Linked DNA regions of Homo sapiens: all the other regions are linked to region 3. The links are contacts of gene promoters, found by promoter capture Hi-C in blood cells and fetal thymus (Javierre and others, 2016). All regions are on one chromosome and are shown on one strand. The core of a region is centred on a gene start or on the middle of the fragment in contact, and the rest is flanking DNA. Distances in the headings are between cores, read along the strand shown. Region 1 overlaps DMRTC2 (DMRT like family C2). Region 2 overlaps LIPE-AS1 (LIPE antisense RNA 1). Region 3 holds the start of POU2F2 (POU class 2 homeobox 2).

Region 1 (2,700 bases), core at 161-2,660, 280 kb after region 3:
TGTGACTTTGTGGCCCTGGTCATCTGTCACTAGGAAAGCATGGCACACCAAGTCTTAGGCAGGTCTATTAAGGAGCAATCATATATCTAAGTTATAGCTAAGGGGAGGGAAGAAGGGTGTGAAGCCGACTTTGGTCTCCTGATATCTCAGTATCTCCTGAGAAGTGCTGCAGGTTTGTTACTCTGTACTCTGCTAGGGAGGAGAAGAAACCCACCCTCTCAAAATCCCAAATAAGAAATAACAAGTTGTAATTGGATGTCATCACCATCAATCATCTTGAGTAAAACAAGGGGTGTAGGTAACATCAGGAAAAAGAATCAGTGATCAAGCACATCCCTTGAGCCCCTTCTAAGGGTGGGAATGGGAAGGGGGTCTCCAGGCTTCATGTCTTTGGAATAGCTCAACAGGTTTTCCTATGTACGGAATGGTTCAAGGAGAAGGACTTGACACCAGAGGACTGAGAAACAAATGCAGGTAAGATCTTATTCTTAATGATATCTTGAGGAGAAAAATAAAAGACTTTTTTGAAAAACTCTTGACTTGTATGTATCTTCTGGAGTCCTGATTGGGGAAAGGAGTGGTGCATCTTTCATTCTATGCTTTTATTTATTTGTTTTTATAGAGACAGGGTCTCCCCGTGTTACTCAGGCTGGTCTCAAACTCCTGGGCTCAAGCGATCCTCCTGCCTTGGCCTCCCAAAGTGCTGGGATTACAGGTGTGAGCTATCACACCCGGCCCAATGCTTTATAAACATTATTAACTAATTTGGAGCCTGGCAAAGAGAAGGAACCCTCCTCTGATCTCTGCCTAGAAATTTCCCCTAAAACACTTGGGCAAGTTACTTTACCTCTTTAAGCTTGTTTCTTCACTTGTAAAATGGGAACCATCCTGCATAACTTCCAGGGTTGCTGTGAAGATATGTGAATCAAATGGAGTGGGCACTCAATAAATGGTAATAAATGTTTCTTAACCTTTTATGGATCCTTCGAAACTCAGACACGTGAACCTCCCTAGTTGAGGAAAAACTTGTGATAAAGACTAACTCGATTCTTTCTATTCTGGTTAGCCTCAATTTCCCCATCTGGAAAATGTATCAAATTGGTATTCCACTGGCCAAAGCTAGCCTGAAAATATGTTTTATTTGGCACGTATAGAATTTAAAGAAGAAAACTGAGCCAACATTTGAAAATTAAGATGTTTTACATGGAAATCTAGTTTTCCAGTTTCTCTTAAAAAATCAGAAGATGGAGCAACACTGAGTCCACATTCCCGCCTGGCAGTAATCTGCTAGGGCCAAAAGGAGGCTGCTCCTTAGGCAAGGCATCCATTCTCAGTTTGCCAGGGTCCATCTGGCCTTCTTTACTCATTTATTTGATCTGCTCAGCCCTGTAGGCATTTCGATTTGTAGCCCCTCTAGACAGCTGGAAACTGTCTATGCCTGGCACAGAGCGGGCAATTAATCAGTGAATCCCCCATTATTTCTTTACATCATTTTTTTTTATTTGGACAAAGAAAAAAATCCAAGTTTGTTTTCATCTATGGTAGCTATTGGATAACAGATTTTTCACTTTGAGAAGCGAAATGAACAAGTCCTTTCTGTCAGTCAGGATAGACTAGGTTAGGCTGTGGTAACACTCTCCAAATCTCAGTGGCTTACAACAACAAAGGTTTATTTCTTGCTTACTCACACAAACCTAGACACAAAATGAAAACACTCTCCTGTTTTCACATGCATGGAGACAGACATGAATGCATAGGCATTTACAGAATCATGGAATCCTGGGATGTAAACTCATGCAAACACGTTTATAGATACTGGTCAGCTTAAATAGCACAACTCTCTCTTTATTGGGGATTTCAAGAGATCCCAGGACCCAAGAAGGGTACAAGAATATCCACTGTCAGCCAAGGAAATGCCCACACTACCAAAGGAACTGAAAGCTAATGAAGCACCTGAAAGCTTAAACAAACAAACAAACAAACAAACAAAAAAGCCCGAAGCTTGTACTACATTAAATTCCATGCATAAATCCTTAAGTAAGACACTAAATATACAGTGCCAGCAGGCTGTCACCTCCCTGCCATAGCAAGACAGCCTCCATCTCTGGGTTTCTAGCTCAGGAGGGAGATGGACCCCAGACGGCCAATATGCAGAGCAACAGAGGGGGCTGGGCTGGGTCGAAGACAGGGGCCAACAGGCTGGAATCCTCTTCCTCCAGCAGGAGCTACAGGCAAGAAGGAAGGGGCAGGATCAGGTCACACCTGTTTTTCCTTCTAGCAACCCCCTCTTTTTACCGAATCCAATCCAGGCCTCATCATTGTTCTCCTGGATTATTTCACAGACCTCCTTGCTAATTTTCCCACCTCCAGTCTTGCCTCCTCCAAACCGTCCATCAAAGCCACCCACTTGTCTTTCTAAAGCTCAGGGTCTCTGAATTTGTCCTTGCTTAGTTCAGAAACGTTCCCTGGCTCCCCTTCACATACAGTTGCTGTTCTAGACACCTAAGCCTGGCATGCCAGATCTCCACCATCAGAAGCCTCTCCAGCCTCCTTTCCCTCTGTTCTAGCATTTCCTCCAGGCCAGTCTGCCCAATCCACTATTTGGACAAGAGAATTCGCAGCTTTCCCTGTCTGTCCCCCTAGGTGTTTCTCACTCTTCAAGGTTCCTCCAATCTTCTTCAGGTTTGTCACTGAGCCTTG
Region 2 (2,700 bases), core at 112-2,611, 430 kb before region 3:
TTACGAAACGATCATTCCATTCAACAGTCAATTATAGAATACTCCCAAAGTGCCAGGCTCTATGAGTTCAGGGAATACAAAAATGAACACAAACAGCCCCTACCCTCAATGATCTCCATACAAAGAGCTCCAAAGAGTGCCTCTCCTACAACACACCCCTGCTCCACACAGCCGTTCTCTCTGCCCTCCACCAACCCAAATCCTACCCTGCCCTGTGAGGCCAGCTCAAGTTCCACCCAACTCGGAGTCCCCCATGCACTTCTGCCACTTTGAGAGATTACTGCACTCATATCTCTAGGCTTTATAAAGTGGATGTCATCTCCCTCATTAGACTTGAGGCTCCTGAAGGCAGAGATTATTTTTAGAATTTTCAAGAAAGAAGTCACATCAGTGGTTTGCATCAGACCACGCTTAGGCCCTGCCTGACCCTTCAATTCACACACAGGCTCCACTGCCTAGCACAGTCCCTGGCCCCTGCACGTGCTTTATAACCCCTGCAGTAGCAAAGCCCACAACCAACTCTGTGACAAGGCAACAGGCTGGGATAATTTGAAAACACAGAGAGAAGAACTGTCAAACAAAAATCAAAGGGCTTTGACTCATGGCTTGCCTCTTCCCTCCTCTCAGGGAAACAAAATCACGCCACCTGTTCTCACTCCTGCCTCATTCCAGGCCTCTTCATATTCCATGATGATCCTTGCCTATAAATAACAATTCCTGTGTTGTGAGCCAAATAGTGATTTTCCATTTCCACCACTCCTTCTACATTTATTAACTGGAATTCTGCTACAAGAAAAAGCTATTTCTGCTTCCTCATTTATTTAATTTATTCAATTATTTATTTATATCAGCATGGATTCATGGGTATTTATGAACTGGAATCCATTACTATCATTATTTATTATGTTGTTCATATTGTCCCAAAATTGACCATTGAGAGTTCCTTGGAAATCTGTGACCTTTTGACACATCCCCACCATTTTTCGTGCAGTTCCTTATTTTCTGGCCCCACAAGGAGCTCCAGGTTCCTCTATGCTTTCCTGACCCAGCCCTGGAATCAGCTATTTCTCCAGGGAGCCCTGGTTCCTTTCATGGGAGAACGATGTTTGCAGGCCATCGGCACTGATAGGCCCACGGTTAGAAGGTGCTGGTGCTTCTGTGCTCTCTAGTGGTCAGATCTGGGAAATACACACTCACACTAGTTTACTGTTACCCACATTTTAGAAATTAGGTAAATGAGGCACAGAAAAGTTACACAACTTGACCAAAATCGCAGAGCAAATAGATAGTAAAACTGTGACATGAAAATAATGACAGATGCACCACAAGTCCTAACAAGCGAAAAAGTAACTTATCACACATGTACATTACCAGAAAGCCACAAGCCCAATATTCCAGCATAGACACTCTCTCTGGAAAATAACCAGAATCCCACAGCAATAACCACAATGATAACCATCATGTACTCAACAACTGCCTGGGCACGGGGCTCCCACAGCAGCTCACTTATTCCCAACAACTCTGCAAGGTGGATTTTACCATCCTCCTTTTACAAATCAGGGAATCAAGGATCACAGAAGCCAAGTGACGTGTCCAAGTTGACATAGTTAAGTGATGGAGCCAGTAATTGACCCCAGGTCTATCTGGATATAAAGTGCATGCTTATGCCACTGTATCAGCGTTTCCCAAAACTGATTTTAGGTGAAAGTTAAATAAGCTGTTTTTTAATTTTAATACTCATGTGTTTATTTTAATGCATGTTAGAAAAACATTTAAGCACACATCAAATCTGTAATTTCATGGACAATACTGCATAAGACAAGGATGTTTTGTCTCCAACTCCTGGCCTCAAGCAATCCTTCCACCTCAGCCACTCGAGTAGCTGGGATCACAGGTGTGAGCCACTGTGCCCTGATAAACAAAGATGTTTTGTAAACTAAATTTATTTAGAAAAAAATAGTATGGGCTGGCCACGGTGGCTCATGTCTGTAATCCCAGCACTCTGGGAGGCCAAGGTGGGCAGATCACTTGAAGTCAGGAGTTCAAGACCAGCCTGGCCAACATAGTGAAACCCCGTCTCTACTAAAAATACAAAAAATTAGCTGGGTATGGTGTCGCATGCCTGTAATCCCAGCTACTCGGGAGGCTGAGGCAGGAGAATCGCTTGAACCTGGGAGGCAGAGGTTGCGCATTGAGCTCAGATCGCACCATTGCACTCCAGCCTGGGCAACAAGAGCAAAATCCCATCTCAAAAAAAGAAAAATAGTATGAAGTAAATAATAAATGTGGAACAAGCTGTAGAGAAAATCATAAAGGTGATCTAGAAATGTCTGAGGTCTGGATGACATAATACTACAGCAACGTGCAGCTTCATTCTCAGTTACTCCCAGGAAATTAGGGCCACATAGCGCTGCAGAAAGAACAAGTAAGACTCTTAGACCTGGGCTTTAGCCCCAGATGTGTCCATTCCTAGGACCCCAGACATCTTTGTGACCTCCTTGCTGGGAGGAAATCCAACCTTCCCAGACATTTAAGAACACTAAGAAGACCCTGAATACACCGAGGGATTTCTTTGTCATAGAGACAACAAACCAGGTTCGGGGACCCCAGGGACTCTCTGTGTGGTGTTGACAGACCCAAGGCCAAGACACAGCAGAGATCAGTGCTGGGGAGGGTGATTTGTCCTGTTAAGGGACAGGG
Region 3 (2,700 bases), core at 102-2,601:
ATGCTTGGGCACATATGTGTAGAAGTGCCCTTGTGCCCATGGGTCCATGTGAGGGAGTAGAGGAGGTATCAGTATATGGGAGTGACCATCGTCAGCAGGGAGGGCTGGTGTTGGGGCCTGTGCACATAGATGTGTTCATGCACGTGTGTGTGCACACGTGTGTGTGTGTGAAGTGCTGGGGTTCATCTGTAGAAATACTTGTGTGTGTGAGGGTGAGTCCAGGCGTCTGTGCATGCACCTGTGGTTTAGGGGGCCCCCCAGCCACGGGGCGCAGGATGTCCTGCGGGGCCCAGGCGGGCATGTGGGGTGTCTGGAGACGCCAGGCAGCCCCACAGCCTCAGACCTCGGGCACCAAGAGGAAGAGGGCAGCGGACTCGGGCGCGCCTTTGTCTGAGCTGCGGTGCGCCGGGAGTCCTGCGCCTTTGTGTGACCCTCGCAGGTGTGCGAGCGGAGGTGTTGGGAGGGTGTTGGGGAGGGGAGCGGAGGGAGGGGCTCCCTTCTCCGCAGCCGGCCCCGCCCTCCGGCCCATTGGCTGGGCGCTGCCGCCCTCTGGCGGGCACGGAGGGAAGCGCTGAAATGGGAGCGCCGCAGCGCGAAGAGCCAGCCGGCAGCCCGGGGACCTGGTGCTCCCCTCCACTGGAGCCGCCTCGGGCGCCCGCATTTGGCCGGCGACTTATTGTAGCCCCAGGCCAAGTCCCCGACCCACCGTCCCCACTACCACTGCCCACGGGCACCACTTCCTCCCAATGGTGGCACCCAACAGCTCACCTGCAGATAGGCGCAGGGCTTGCTTGATCTTCCCTGCCGCGGCGTGCTTTTAAGCTTCAACGCTTCTTGGCTCTGGGCCTTTGGGAAAGCTACTGCTCACCTCTCTGATCCTCAGTCTTTTCATCTGTAAAATGGGGCAAATAAGAGTGACCACCACATTGGAGATGGCACCTGTCAAGAGTGAGGCACAGGGTCAGGCATCGGCAAAGCCCTCTCTCCAATAAGCTGCTGGCTAGTGTTTTATTGTTGTTACTGCTGTGGACCCACCTTCTCTCCCAGACCCCCATTCCCTGTTCCAGACTTGTTTGCCTCCATGGGGGCGACAGAAGTCGGGGGGCAACTGTTGCAGGCACCTCTTGGATCGCAGCCGTAGGAGTCGGCTCTTCCAGCCTGCTTATCCTCTGCCCCACTAGCCCCCACCCCCCAGCACACACACATGATTTGGGGTGGGCCGGGCTGCCGGGGCGGGTCTGTGGGCCAGGGTATTTTCCCTTCTGAAGGGGGCGGACCGGCCCTGTGGTTTCCTCCCTGAGTGACTTCCGGCAGGGAGGGCTCGGCCCCCAGAGAGGGTGGGGAGATGACACAGTTGTTCCCCCAGCCCTGGCGGGGCGGGCAGCATGGTTCACTCCAGCATGGGGGCTCCAGGTAAGGGGGCTGGTGCCTGTGCCACTGCTCAGAGGACAGGCAGCACATTTAGGTTTGCTCTGCGGGCCCTGCCTGCCCCTCCTCCTCAGCTGTCTCCATTGTCCTTCTCCTCTGTACTCTAGCAACTCCCTCTCTCCCATGCCGGGTCCCCGCTAACCCCCACAGCTCCTCTTTGCCCTCTCTTTCCACATCAGGCACCGGAACTTCCAACATCTTCTCTTCTCTGTTGCCCTGTTCCGAAGGGTCTGGGGACGGGAGGGAGGGAGCTGGGTGTTGGTAGCGGGCCCTCATGTGGAGAACCAGTGGGGTGGGTGACATGGGCAATCCTTGGATAAGGGCTGCAAAGGGATTGGAATGCCAAGTTGCTGGACTTGGGGGATGTCATTCCCTTTTGAGTGTGTGTGTGCACATCTGGTACAGGTGTGCGTGTGCATGTGTGTGTGCAGTAGTTCTGAGTGCTCTGAGTGGGACTGCTGTGTGCTTGTGAGTGTAGGGGGCTGTTGTGTGTGGCATTGTGGGGTGATGATTGCCTGGCTCCCTTCTTCACTTCATTCACCTCAGATGTCACCTCCTCAGGGCAGCCTTCCCTGACCTCCCCATCTAAACTGGCACTGATCCTGTCACTCTCAGTCCCCTCACCCTGCTTTATCTTTTCTTCACGGCACGTATCACTGCTGGGAATTTCATTATGTGTTTGTTTGTGTGCTTATTAAATGCCTTCTCCACCAAATGTCAGTTGGCTGAGTGAACATTGTGCACCAGGCACTGTACAAGGTGATTTATAGCTGTTGGCTCATTTAGTAGAATGTGTATATGTCTGTATGGTGATGGCTATCACTCAGCAGTGTTGATGGGAGTCTTAAATGAGGTAATACATGTAGCATGCTTAGCACAGTGCCTGGAACATGGCAAGCACTCAGCCCTTCATGCCTGTTTCATTTGTGGCTGTGTAGGCATGACCATGGGCATGAGTCTTGGTTTGGTGGTGTGTGCTGTCCTATATGCGCCATTGTGTGCGGGCACCCGTGTGTCCTCCACCAACATGTATCTATTGAGTAGTTCTGTGTTGGGTGTTGGAAGTACAGTGGAAAGGGTAGCTCAGGTCTGTCCTCCTGGAGCTCCCAGTTTATTGGAGAAGACAGACCTGTCACCAATGACAGTACAGACAGGTCAGGGCTGGGATGGGGGAGGTCCAGGCAGAGGGATCAGGGCTGGGATGGGGGAGGCCCAGGCAGAGGGGTCAGGGCTGGGATGGGGGAGGCCCAGGCAGAAGGGTCAGGGCTGGGG

The links. Contacts are between HindIII fragments. The CHiCAGO score rates a contact against its expected background, and 5 or more counts as called.
Region 1: a contact is called between a fragment that was not itself captured here and the fragment with the promoter of POU2F2 in region 3, in 1 of 17 cell types (fetal thymus). The highest score is 5.7, in fetal thymus.
Region 2: a fragment that was not itself captured here is called in contact with the fragment with the promoter of POU2F2 in region 3 in 1 of 17 cell types (neutrophils); the score reaches 5.4 in neutrophils.

Annotation. Positions count from the first base shown.
Region 1 is chr19:41,851,109-41,853,808 of GRCh38, reverse strand. DMRTC2 (DMRT like family C2) reads right to left here. Exons shown (of 9, transcript NM_001040283.3): 9 at 1,476-2,225. The coding sequence ends at 2,113. Among named protein-coding and RNA genes, the nearest start is that of DMRTC2, 7.4 kb to the right of the region's middle. The HindIII fragment of the contact is 1,104 bases long and covers 859-1,962 here.
Region 2 is chr19:42,562,002-42,564,701 of GRCh38, reverse strand. The region is part of intron 2 of LIPE-AS1 (LIPE antisense RNA 1); the gene reads right to left. Among named protein-coding and RNA genes, the nearest start is that of CEACAM8, 32 kb to the left of the region's middle. The HindIII fragment of the contact is 9,698 bases long and covers 1-2,700 here.
Region 3 is chr19:42,131,097-42,133,796 of GRCh38, reverse strand. It overlaps POU2F2 (POU class 2 homeobox 2), which reads left to right and starts at 1,351. Exons shown (of 15, transcript NM_001394376.1): 1 at 1,351-1,413. The coding sequence starts at 1,386. It overlaps LNROP (long non-coding regulator of POU2F2), which reads right to left and starts at 1,168. Exons shown (of 3, transcript NR_038332.1): 1 at 1,036-1,168; 2 at 769-892. It overlaps MIR4323 (microRNA 4323), which reads left to right and starts at 284; the gene lies at 284-352. RefSeq lists an enhancer at 80-129 and a silencer at 410-669. The HindIII fragment of the contact is 8,202 bases long and covers 825-2,700 here.